Linked DNA regions of Homo sapiens: region 2 is linked to region 1. Evidence: promoter capture Hi-C in human tissues and cell types (Jung and others, 2019). All regions are on one chromosome and are shown on one strand. Each heading gives the region's core, a stretch centred on a gene start or on the middle of the fragment in contact. The rest is flanking DNA. Distances are from core to core; before and after follow the strand shown.

Region 1 (6,651 bases), core at 637-3,136:
CAGCTGAATGCAGACTTTGTGGTTCATCACTAGAGGATACTGCAAAGGCTTACAAATAGCCACGTAGCGGTCATAGGCCATCACTGTCAGAAGGAGACACTCCGTGCCTCCAAGCATAAGAAAAAAACACATTTGTGTAGCACAAGCAAACAAAGAAATATTTCCTTTCTGAGTCCAAATGTCCATGAGCATTCTTGGGATAATGATTGTTACATAACAGATTTCCAAAAGGGAAAAATTGCTAAGAAAAAAATACATGGGAGTCTGGAGAGCGGGGTGAATTTTTATTAGTAGTATTATGATGCCATTGCACATCAGGATCATCAAATACATAAGTAAAAATATACTAAAAAGCATCCAGTGGAGATTGGGAATATCAGAAAACCCCAAAAGAACAAATTCCATTATTGTAGTCACATTTGATTTTTCTCTTTTAGTTTGCTCTCCATCTGCAGATATAGCAAATTCAAGACAGTTAATTCATCCATATTTTGAACAATATTTTCCTCTTGGGTTAACTAAATGAGATACAGGAATATACTTACTTAAGCTCTTAAGTCATTTTCACCAGTACTTGCTCTGTTTCTAGATAATAAACTGATTTAGCATTAAAATCAATTTAAGAAATGAAACCTCAATATATTTTATTATACTGGGATATAATGCAACCAGAGGCATTGAGAAGCATGCATTGTTGTTTAGAAAATATTATGGAGGAATAACATCTTATTATTTCACACTTAAGAGTAGAGTTATAGTGTAGGCTTTTACTATTTCATCTGAGAATATCATTTTTCTTTGTATTGGTAGTCATATTCCAGTTTTTTTAATTCAAAATGTTGCCCTTGAATATTACGATTAATTCATACTCAAAATGAATTTTAAACTTTTCCTTTTATGCACCAGTGAGAATCAATTATCTTAAACAATTTCTTGGTTACTGAGAGACTAAATACATGCATTATTGTTGCTCTACTTCATGTCTCTCTCCTATTATTTATGCTAAATATAAAAACACTAATACCAGTAGGCAGTTTATTGACTTCCCCTGTTATTGCCCTGAATACAGTGAATGCTAAATAGTAATTAAATTATAACTTAATCAAGATGTAGAAATTCATCACAATTTTTTTTACATTTCTTTTTTTTATCTAAGTGAATTTCTCCATTGTCATATAACCAAATACAGTTCCTTTCAACCAAATACAATTCCTTCTCTCTATTTTCCCTTCATCCTGTTGCCTTATTAAAGTAAAATTCTTTGATTAAACCCAGCTAACATTTACTCTGGCCATCTAAGTGGCCAGAGCATATAAATGGGACCAAAAAATTAAACAAAACAAAACAAAAACACACTGTCTTGCTTCACTTCATGTCAATGTCATCCAATATGAGGAAATCACTGCTTGTCAATTCCCATTACACTTGCTTAACGTTTGTTCTCCAACTTTCTAAACAAATTCTTTTTTTCTGTGTCTTCAAATCTGCTGCACCTATACCTATTTTAGCCCGGTCAGCCAATGCATTTGACTTAATACGTTGATAAATGAAAGTGATCAGACAAATACTATCTCATATTTATACATTTCTATTAGTACTAGTTTTCAAAATTGCCTTAAATGACTTTTCATCACTAATGCAATTTTACCATTATTGGACATCTAATTTTATTTAACTTTGTAGTGAAGAGATACATGATTTAAATGTTAAATAATTAATTTTCAGATAAAGGTCTCAAAATTTCATGCTTTTCTGTTTTATTAGTTGCATTTCTATCCACAAACTTGTAACTATTCTTAAATAAAATAGTCTGTCAACCCAATTATGGCTTACCTTTAGGGATTTGCATGAAGCTGTCTGTACAGACTTTTTAAGCTCTTCCTTTTCTCGGGAACTGTAATTTTGCAATACGCTTGCTTGTTTCAAACAGCAACAGCTCTTATATAGGAATAGTCAGACTCAACCTGGGATGTGTCTTCTCTTGAGTATCAGTTTAATTTCTAGAAGGCTGCTTCTGTTTGTCAATCATTCTGATTCATTTTTCAAAACTACTTTAAGTAAACTTATCCTCCTCTTCATCTCCTCATGAGGGGAGTTAATTAAATACCATTTAGTTGTCTAGTATTACTTTCAGGAAAAAGTTAAAAATTTTCCAACTGTGTATTTGAGGCCCCTAATACTTAGTGTGGATTTGTCTGCCTTACTTCTATTCCAATAATTTATCCAGATCCAAATTAACTAGACCTTTAAAAAATATATCATGTGTTTAATCACACGAACATGATATGCTTGATGTCTTCGACATATTGAACGGTGAGATTCTTTTTCAGATGTGGAACCCTCTGTTCCTAGGTTAACTTTTTTTGTGGATATTAAAACATGTTAATTCTGCTGAGAAAATCTATCTATACATTTATTTCATTCTGTGTTGTCTATAAGGCACCAGGGAAATGTATCCAGCTGATTGAAAATGTAATATACCACTCCAAGACGTCCCACTAGACGCAGTCAAGAGGAACATCGCCCACGAGGGACCAGGACATCAGGAAGATTGGTGCACTCCTAGCAAATCTTCAGAAGGAAAGGAATTCTGCATGGGGGTACCACACACAGGAAGCATTCCTGGCCCCCAGTGACTCCTGCAAAAGCATGAGTTGAATGGGCAAGGAGCAACCCTCTCTTTCCATGAGCCTCCGAATCCCAGCAGGAGAAAACCCCTGGACCACAAGTAACACTTGAACTGGCAGGGAGAGATGCTTAGACAAGTGGTAGGGGCAGAACTCCAGCCTGTGTGGAATCCAGAGGGTTTAGTGTGAAAGTGTCTGTAGTGGAGCATGGCCAGGGATGCCCATCCCCCCAGGCTTGACCTGCTCCCGTAGGAAGCTTTAGCCCTATGGGAACTATGGGACCTGAATTCTGCACGGCAGTCTCACCCACTACATGAGGCTATTCTAACTTCAGCACCACTCAGTTTGCTGGCCTCTCCTGGGTCCCAGCTTGGCCCCCAGCCAGGTACCTCCTGGGGGCCACATCATAGCTCCTGTGCTGGTGGACCCCCGGCTGACCAGCAGACTGATCCAGCAGAGTAGCCTGTGCAGACACAGGCCAGCCCACCAGCACCCTCCCTGCACTGCAGCCTCTCGGGCCACTTTGCCTGCACTCACTCACCCATAGCCACCCCCTATTTATGTCTCTCTCCTATTATTTATGCTAATTATAAAAACACTAATACCAGCATCCCTTTGCCAGTGAGTGTGTGTGCCAGAGGACATTGCCTTCCCTTCCCTGCCACTGTGAGTGTGCCCATACATCCTGTGTGCCACTGCTCCCGGAGTGAGTGCACCTTTGGCCCTGCTGCAGAGCCGTTGTCCTCGGAGCGTTTGTGGGCCCGTCCCTCCCTGAGCGGGTCTAATGGTCACTAACTAGTGATCATTAGAGAAATGCAAATCAAACTTTCCATCACTAACCAGTGATCATTAGAGAAATGCAAATCAAAACCACAATGAGATAGATACCATCTCACACCAGTCAAAATCACTATTATTAAAAAGTCAAAAAATAACAGATGCTGGTGAGGTTGCAGTGAAGAGGCAACACTTACAGTGTCTTGATGGGAGTGTAAATTAGTTCAACCATTGTGGAAAGCAGTGTGACGATTCCTGAAAGAGGTAAAAACAGAACTGCCATTCTACCCCATAATCACATTACTGGCTCTAGATCCAAAGGAATAGAAATCATTCCATTATAAAGATGCATGCACACATACATTCATTGCAGCACTATTCTCAATAGCATAGACATGGAATCAATCTATATGTCCATCAGTGGTAGACTAGATAAAGAAAATGTGGTACGTATACATCATGGAATCCTATGAAACCATTAAAAAAGAAGACTATGTCCTTTGCAGGAACATGGATGGAGCTGAGGGCCATTATCCTTAGCGAACTAACTCAAGAACAGAAAACCAAATACTGCATGCTCTCACTTAAAAGTGAGAGCTAAGTGATGGGAACACATGGACACATGGAGGGCCTACCTGAGGATGGAGAATGAAAGGAGGGAGAGGAGCAGAAAAAATAACTATTGGGTACTAGGCTTAATACCTGGGTGAGGGCCAGGCACTGTGGCTCAAGCCTGTAATCCCAGCACTTTGGGAGGCCGAGGAGGGCGGATGACCTGATGTCAGGAGTTCGAGACCAGCCTGACCAACATGGAGAAATCCCATCTCTACTAAAAATACAAAATTAGCCAGGTGTAGTGGTACATGCCTGTAATCTCAGCTGCTAGGGAGGGTGAGGCAGGAGAATCACTTGAACCTGGGAGGTGGAGGTTGCGGTGAGCCGAGATCGTGCCATTGCACTCCAGACTGGGCAACAAGAGTGAAACTCTGTCTCAAAAGAAAAACAAAAAATAATACCTGGGTGAAATCTGTACAACAAACCCCATGTGGAACAACCCTTCAAATGGACACCTGAACCTACAATAAAAAAAAAAAATTTAATGCAAGCCACTTCAAAAATAAACATTTTAAACTAGATTATTTAAAACAGAAGGAAAAGAAGAAACTTTTCAACATCCTTTCCCTATTGCAGCTACTTCCGGGTGTGTATGGTGATGTTTCTCAGGCATAAAATCAGGAGCACCAAATCTACTTCTATGTGGAGTTACATTTGTTTCTTCTTGTTTGGCGTTCTATGACCATTTGACAGTATGTTTCTAAAACCAACTTCCTCTATGCATGCTAAATCTGCTTCTCTATACCACAGCATGCCTCTCCTACATTGTTCCTCTGTACTCTTTATTATCACTGATTTGGTATGTCCAAAGAGGGCTTTCTTCATTTCCATCTACAATTGAAAATGGTACTCATGATTTTCCAGAAACTTTCCATTACCAGGTTGGGACAAGCTGAATGTCCATTTTCCACTGGAGTACACTGGTGTATTATGAAAAAGGAGAATTGGATAAATTGGGTATTTCATAATTCATTTAAATACCACAGTGACCTGAACAAGTCTAAAACCTGAAACATTACCACAGATATATCAACGCCTTATCAAAATAAAGAAGTATCTTACATTCATATCATAGTGCAATGTGGTGGTTAGTAATTAAAAAACTCTATTTCCTTCCATCTGATAGTCCTATTGTTCCCTAGGTCATCTTTGTAGTTCTCTATTGGACCACGAGCATTCAGAGAGCTGAGAACCAAGTATGGACAGAGCATAAGGAAAGAAACTCCCTCTAAAGAGTCTCAGCACATGATAGATGCGTCATTTCCACACATATGCTATTGTAGAAACTATTAACATGATCTAACTTAAATGTGAGAGGGCTAGGGGATGTTGTATTACTGTAGGTCAAAAAAACAAAACGATTTTTGGAGAACATCAAGGCAGATTCCACCCCAGGGTATTTCACTCTTTCTCCCAAATATAGAAGGTATTTCCCCAATGCCATAACGTTCAGCCCTAAAAATTTATGATCTATGATTATTACCCATTTCTCTATATTAGGTATGGGTGATCTCCTTCAGTTTAAGAGACCAATGAATAAAAAATGGAAATATTTCTTCCACTACACACTCAGTATACAGTGACATTGGAGTGGAACATGCTGATGCTTTTTTTTTTTTTTTTTTGGAGAGACAGCTGTCACTATTTCTCTGGGTAGAATCTTAAGGACACTTACCCTGCATACAAATAGATTCCTTTATTAATTTTTCTTCTAAACGCTTGGTTCCACTCTACCTTGTTTACCTCTTTTGCAGTGGCATCTAAAGGAGATTTGAACAATCCCAGTCTCCTTGCACCCTGCTCAGATTTGCATCTCAATTAATGGTGAAGCAGGTCTGAGGACCTGGAATTTATTTACAGATCGAAGAGTCAAAGATTTAGTAATCTTGACCTTGTGATGTTTTTGGCTGTAACATTTTCTTGGAAATTAAAAAAAAAAAACTCTCATTTAATTACTGCACAACAATCCCTGTGACAAATTTTTCTGAAATATAGATTTTAAATATCCTAGTACCCTCATGCCTCTCTGTTTCAAGTTAAAGCTGGCTAATTGGTAGCTCTCTGAGATTTTAGGCATCACTTAGAGCATCAATTTATTTATTATCTAACTCTGACAATTTTGAAAGTAAATGGAGAAACTAAAATTGACATATTATATTGTGAAACCTGTATTTAAAAGCAAGTTTCAAATGCAACATAGCATGTGATAACTTGAATACATTTATATTTATGTTTAAATGTTAAAATTTACAACACAATAATTATTCCTGATATTTGTCCATGTATTTTAGTTGTTTTATAAAAATATATTTGCATCTTATATTAATACAATGTAATTATTATTTTTAATATGGTCTTACTCTTATATTAACAATGTTACTGAAGCATAATTTTCAGAAAATAAACTACATACTTTAAAATATATTTAATTATATTTAAAATTCAATGTGGTGACAGACATATTCAATTGTGAAACCACAATCAAGGTACAGAACATTCACATTATCCAGAAACAGTCCTTCTTAAAATTTTTCAATATCATTCATTTTCGCCTGTAACCCAAGGAAACCACAGATCAGATTCCTATAGTTAAAGATAATTAATAATCAACAGAATATACATTTTTATGTGT
Region 2 (6,282 bases), core at 1,243-3,742, 98 kb after region 1:
AGAGGTCTGGAGGATGATGGAAATGTTCTATATTTTGATTGTGCTAGTAATTGCCCTGGAGTCCACATTTGTCAAAACTCATTCAATTATATGCATTTTAAAATAATTAAAATTTATTGTATTATATTTGTCAACAGCTTTCACTTTAAAAAACATTTCTCTGAAATATGACATTTTAATATGGAGAGACCTAATGCATTCATTAATATAACTTCTGAATAATATTTTTCACAAAAAGACTTCTTACATGACAAAAAACCTAACATTGACAAATATAAGCTAAATAAGTTTGAAATAATGCTATTGAGTGTTTCCATGTGACAAATTCAATTGCATTCTCAGAAATACTCTAAATATCCTAACTAAGCCATTAGGTTCTTCTGAATGTACTTATTTGCTGTGGTTTCTTTTTGTATTTTGTTTTAAATTTTGGGTTGCTTGTTTTGTTTATTGTTTAAGTTCTTGTCAGCTGAATGCCTGCAAATATAGATGTTTATAAAGTATTTTCAGATTCTTTTTTCCTTAATCTACAATTTTCTAGGAGAAAATAATATTTATTTATTTATTCTTCATATACAGATTGGAAATAAATTATATTTTAAAAAAAGAATGCATCATAGGTACTTAGAATGTTTTAAGGTTTCTGAGATAATGGATCATCTCCTGTACTAACTCATCTTAGAATATCACCCAGTCCTCACCCCTACTATCTGCTCCATTAACCTTTAATTTAGGAAACTAATACATTTTAATTCAAGAAGATGAAATTTAATTGTTTTTAGTATAAAGAATAAAGGCCCATTCTTATGTAGCCACATATGTAAGAGAAACATGTGAAACATTGTCACCAAAATCCCTCATGATACAGTTTAAGCTGGAAAAAGCCACAATATTGACTCCATCAGGGGACACCTGCAGGACTGGAGGAATAAATCAGGAGAGGGGGACTGGGTTGATTTTAAGAAAGCCTTTTAAGAAATAGTAGTTTTAATTTTCTTTGATGATATTCTTGGAAAGGAAATCAAGGAATGGAATTGATTTGATATTTTTATGTTATTGCTTTTTTTTGCTGTTTTTTTTCTATTACTTGGACAACTAGGCCCAAGTAACGTGTTCTTAAAAGCATGAGAGAGTACCAAGAAAGCACCACTAGCAATTCTATTGAATTTTTTCAGAGATCATGCATTTGGTTTTCCCCCCACACTTGCCCCACATTTCCTTTTATTCATTGTAAACTTCAGGAAAGTAAATGCCTTAGGGGAGCCATTAAGTTCTTCAGTTTCCTAAATCCCTCAAGAAACAAAGAAGAATTTTCAATAATATATGTACTATATCCTTTTAATGAGAGGATTAACTCCAGGGACTTTATTCCCATTTTGTTAGGGAACCACAAACACAGAAAAGCCAGGGTGACACCACTTTAAAATCAGCTCCATCTTAAAACTAGCAATGCACATTCCTTCCCTGTCACTGCCCATGGTCATAAGATGATTACAGTTAAGGAAGCAGTTGAATAAAGCGTGTAAGGACAAACTCCTCTGATAAAAAAAAAGTCTAGATGCTTCAGTATTGTGTAACAACTTTGCTTTTAAGGTAATTATAGTTATGCTTTGATTTGCTTAGACACTAAAATGCCAAGGATAGTTTTCTTTAAATCAACAGAATGATAAATTTTGCTACGATGTCAGCTCACCTGCAGGTAGACATAGCTTAGCCTCATTTTTACACAGGTAAGATTTCAACATAAATAAAGCTTAAAGATGAGACGTTCCTCTGCTTGCTTTCTGAGGACACCATGATCTGTATTTGAGTAGCTTTCAATGAACTACCTCTTATCACACTCTGTGACTTGCCTTGAATTCCTTTGTGCATCAGATCCAGGAACCCTCTCTTGAGGTCTACATCTTGACTCCTTTCTCCTGCAACAATTTGAACTAAGACAAATACATAACTAAACTTTTTGTCTAAAATTATCTTCTAATACAATTGTGTTTTTCATTTTCATTTTATTTATTTATTTTTGAGAAGGGGTGTCACTCTGTCGCCCAGGCTGGAGTATAGTGGTGCAATCTCAGCTTGCTACAGCCTCGACCTCTTGGGCTCAGGCAAACCTCCCACTTCAGCCTCCTGAGTAGCTGGGACCACAGGTTTTTTGTGTGTTTTGGAGAGAAGGGGTTTTGCTATGTTGCCCAGGCTGGTTTTGAACTCTTTAGCTCAAGAAATCCAACTACCTCCACCTACCAAAGTGCTAGGATTACAGTATGCCTGGCCTGACAAGTTTATGTTTTGATTTTTTTTTTAATTTTACTTTAAGTTCTGAGATACAAGTGCAGAACATGTATGTAGGTTTGTTACATAAGTATACGGTGTGTCATGGTAGTTTGCTGCACCTACCAACCCGTCATCTAGGTTTTAAGGCCCACATGTATTAGCTATTTGTCCTAAGGCTTTCCCTTCCCCACACCTTGACAGGCCCTGGTGTGTGATGTTCCCCTCCATGTGCCATGTGTTCTCATTGTTCAACTCCTACTTATGAGTGAGAACGTGCGGTGTTTGGTTTCCTGTTCCTGTGTTAGTTTGCTGAAGATGATGGTTTCTAGCTTCATCCATGTCCCTACAAAGGACATGATCTCATTCCTTTGTATGGCTGCATAGTATTCTATGGTGTAAATGTACCACATTTTCTTTATCCAGTCTGTCATTGATGGGCGTTAGAGTTGATTCCATGTCTTTGTTATTTTAAATAGTGCTGTAATAAACATATGTGTGTTTTGATCATCTTCCTCTTACTTTCATGCCAAGGAAGTTGTACCTATGATTCTCATATTGTAAAGAATAAGTTTGAATATCAGTGCTGCTACCTGTAACTATTACAATATCATTTACTTAATTTATGCATCACTATAAATTTAAGACAAATTTAACTAATTATTGTCCGTGCTTTGTCTTTGTGTTTGTCTTAGGCAGACTACAGAGAGATAAACCATGGGAAGAGGTGGTTATGGAGGTTTCTAAATGAGCTGAGGTATTGAACATTTTTTCTTCTATTGGTAAGTTAAACTCACTTATTTGAATAACATATGTGTTCTACAAATTAGTTAAAACATTTTAAAATGAAGAAAAGAGAACGGTTCATATATCTATACTTTTAAAAGTATTAAAAAGTATAAGTATTTTATACTTGAAAAAGTATATTTTTATCTGATAAACACTTCAAATTACAGGGACAGGAGGAACTTGTAACCTGGCTATCTGTTCTCACCCTCATACTACACTTCAATCTATTTTTCTACATTAGCTTCAAAATAGTTGTGTAACTTTCATTGGAATAATGAAAAATATCAGGGTTTTAATTCAGTGGAACAGTCTTTCATAAAGAGGAATTGTAATCTAAGTCATAACTACATATTCCCATGGGGATTATTCACCTATCCCTGTAGATGCTCCAGATCTCAAAGTTCTCTGCTTGTTTGTCATTATTTCAGTAGTCTTCTTCTTTTCCTGAGTTTTACATACTCTGCAAGAATTGTATCTCTCAAGTAAAAAGATAACGAAGTGACCAAACATATTATTTTTATTCTGGAGAAGTAAAGCTGCCAGTATCCCAATTTGTTTGAAGTATTTATTTATATCCTCACCTGGTTCAAAGAGGCCCAGAGCCAATGTACTCCATCCCACCCTTTTGGAAGATTCACCTCTGTCCATGGTGTCCTCACACACTCCCTTTACAGAAGGAGGATGATGAAGGCTGCTAGGTTGACCCTGATCACCATCGTAGATAGACCCAGTGCTGAATCCAGCCCTGTCAAGGAGACCGGTGCCTTGTGCTCTTCACTCCTTCCCAGTTCTACTGTTTATGCTTCTTAAACAAACAGGACTTTGTTATGAGCAGAAAGGTAAATCGGTGTTCTGAGTTACTGGAACCCAGGTCAGGAAATTAAGACACCCTTTTTCGAAGCATGCCAAAGACTGAATGAGAGAAAGTACAGTACAGTATCATGGCTATGTAAGGAAGCCAGTCATCTATAAATTTCGCTTATCTAGTAGGACACTGTTGACTTAATGTTTAAAATATGGTTTAGAGTAACTAGGAATTGGCTTCTTTCTCATTTGATTCCAAAAAATGGTACATGGTACTCCAATTAAGAGTCTGGACAAAGCCTGCTAAAAGCACAATAATCTAGGCCTAGAAGATGGTACCAATTTATATACATTTGTATTTTTGTAAATAAAAGTTAATTTTTCAGGCAAAATGTGGTAATAATTGACAGATATGCATTGGTTATTTGAAAAAGACATTGCATATTCTAAGAATTGCGTTGCAATATGAAAAGAAAGCATTGCAAATGTATCTGTACGTTGTATAGGTTTACTTTATTTTATGGATTTGCTTTGCTTTTTCTCAGGAAAAAGTATGAGAACTTATTTTTCTTGAGTCTCAGTAAAGTATTTCTATTGGATATCAAAGACCAATTATAACTTGCTGTTGCCATATTTCACATTTCAGTTTAGAGTGCCTTCTCCTCTCATTCCCAGTAAGCACTCTTCTGAGAAGCCAGGGCCTCTGGTTACTTTCAAAGGATGACTCCCGAACCTTCGGTCCTTAGCTTTTGTCATATCTAACTTTAAAACTGTGGAGTAGGAACTAAGCATGAAGACGTTAGTCGAATATTTCAGGTTTAAATGCCATAGTACAGTTACTCTTATATCTCGATACATTTGACATTAGCAACTATTAAATTTGAAATTAGAAGTGTAAAAATGGGCTTCTATGGGACATACATTCTATTTCCAAATTTAGTTCTTATGCTTTTGTGAACTGGGCTTTTCTTCTGTCTTTTGTTTTCAATTTTTATTTCATGTTCAGTGGTACATATGCAGGTTAATTATATAGATATATTGTGTGTCGTGGGGGTTTGGTGAACAGATAATTTTATCACCCAGGTAATAAGAATAGTACTCAGTAGGTACTTTCTTGATCCTCACCTTCCTCCCACCTTCCACCCTCAAGTAGGCACCAGTATCTGTTGTTCCCTTCTTTGGGTCCATATGTACTCAATGTTTAGCTTCCCTTTATAAGTGAGAACATGCAGTATTTGCTTTTCTGTTCCTGTGTTAGTTTGCTTAGGATAATGGCTTCCAGCTCCATCCATGTTGCTGCAAAGGACATGATCTCATTACTTTTTATGGCTGCATAGTATTCAATGGTGTAAATGTACCACATCTTTATCCAGTCCACCATTGATAGGCATTTAGGTTGATTCCATGTTTTTGCTACGTGAATACTACCTCAATGAACAGACACATGCATGTGTCCTTATGATAGAATGATCTATATTCCTTTGGATATATACCCAATAATGGGATTGCTGGGTCAAATGTTAATTCTGTTTTAGGTTTTTTTCTTTTCTTTATATAGATGTAAAATACAGTTTACTTTAGATTTTTGTTCCCATTAAGACCAGAATTTTAAATGCAGCCTTAAGCTAAGACCCTAATATTTTTGGTTTTTTTTTTTTTTTTCGATTTTTTTTCACTCATGGAATTTTTTATGGAATAAGTAAATAAACTGTGTTTGAATAAAGTGTTGAAATTTTCTGATTTTATAGGTAAGACAATCAGAGAAGTCACTAACTCATATCACATGGCTAGGTAGGAATTCCAAATGGTCTTGATATTGCGGTATCATTACTCTGAATTAATTCCAATCTCCATATCATTAACAGGCATCAAGAAACACAAATCCATGGCTGATGTTAATTTTACATTGGTTACTGAGTTTATCCTTTTGGAACTGACAGATCGTGCTGAACTGAAGATGGTCCTCTTCGTGTTGTTCCTGCTGATCTACACCATTTCCCTGGTGGGAAATATAGGAATGCTCTTTCTAATCTATGTAACTCCCAAACTCCACACACCCATGTATTATTTCCTCAGCTGTCTGTCATTTGTTGATGCCTGCTATTCATCAGTTTTTGCACCCAGAATGCTGCTGAACTTCTTTGTTGAGCGGGAGACAATCTTATTCTCTGCATGTATTGTGCAGTATTTTTTATTCGTGTCTCTCCTTACCACTGAGGGCTTCTTGCTGGCCACAATGGCTTACGACCGTTACATGGCCATTGTGAACCCTTTACTTTATACAGTAGCTATGACTAAAATAGTTTGTATTGTGCTCGCATTTGGGTCATGTATGGGAGGTTTAATCAACTCATTGACACATACAATTGGCTTGGTGAAACTGTCTTTCTGTGGGCCAAATGTCATCAGTCACTTCTTCTG

Evidence for each region. The method cuts DNA at HindIII sites, captures the fragments that hold promoters and counts their contacts. A contact is called where the count stands out against the background at its distance.
Region 2: a fragment that was not itself captured here is called in contact with the fragment with the promoter of OR10AG1 in region 1 in 2 of the 25 tissues and cell types used here (adrenal gland and mesendoderm cells).

The regions. Positions count from the first base shown.
Region 1 is chr11:55,968,059-55,974,709 of GRCh38, forward strand. It overlaps OR10AG1 (olfactory receptor family 10 subfamily AG member 1), which reads right to left and starts at 1,887. Exons shown (of 2, transcript NM_001005491.2): 1 at 1,834-1,887; 2 at 1-449. The coding sequence starts at 1,849. The HindIII fragment of the contact is 11,099 bases long and covers 1-6,091 here.
Region 2 is chr11:56,065,365-56,071,646 of GRCh38, forward strand. It overlaps the pseudogene OR5J1P. Among named protein-coding and RNA genes, the nearest start is that of OR8I2, 25 kb to the right of the region's middle. The HindIII fragment of the contact is 3,281 bases long and covers 853-4,133 here.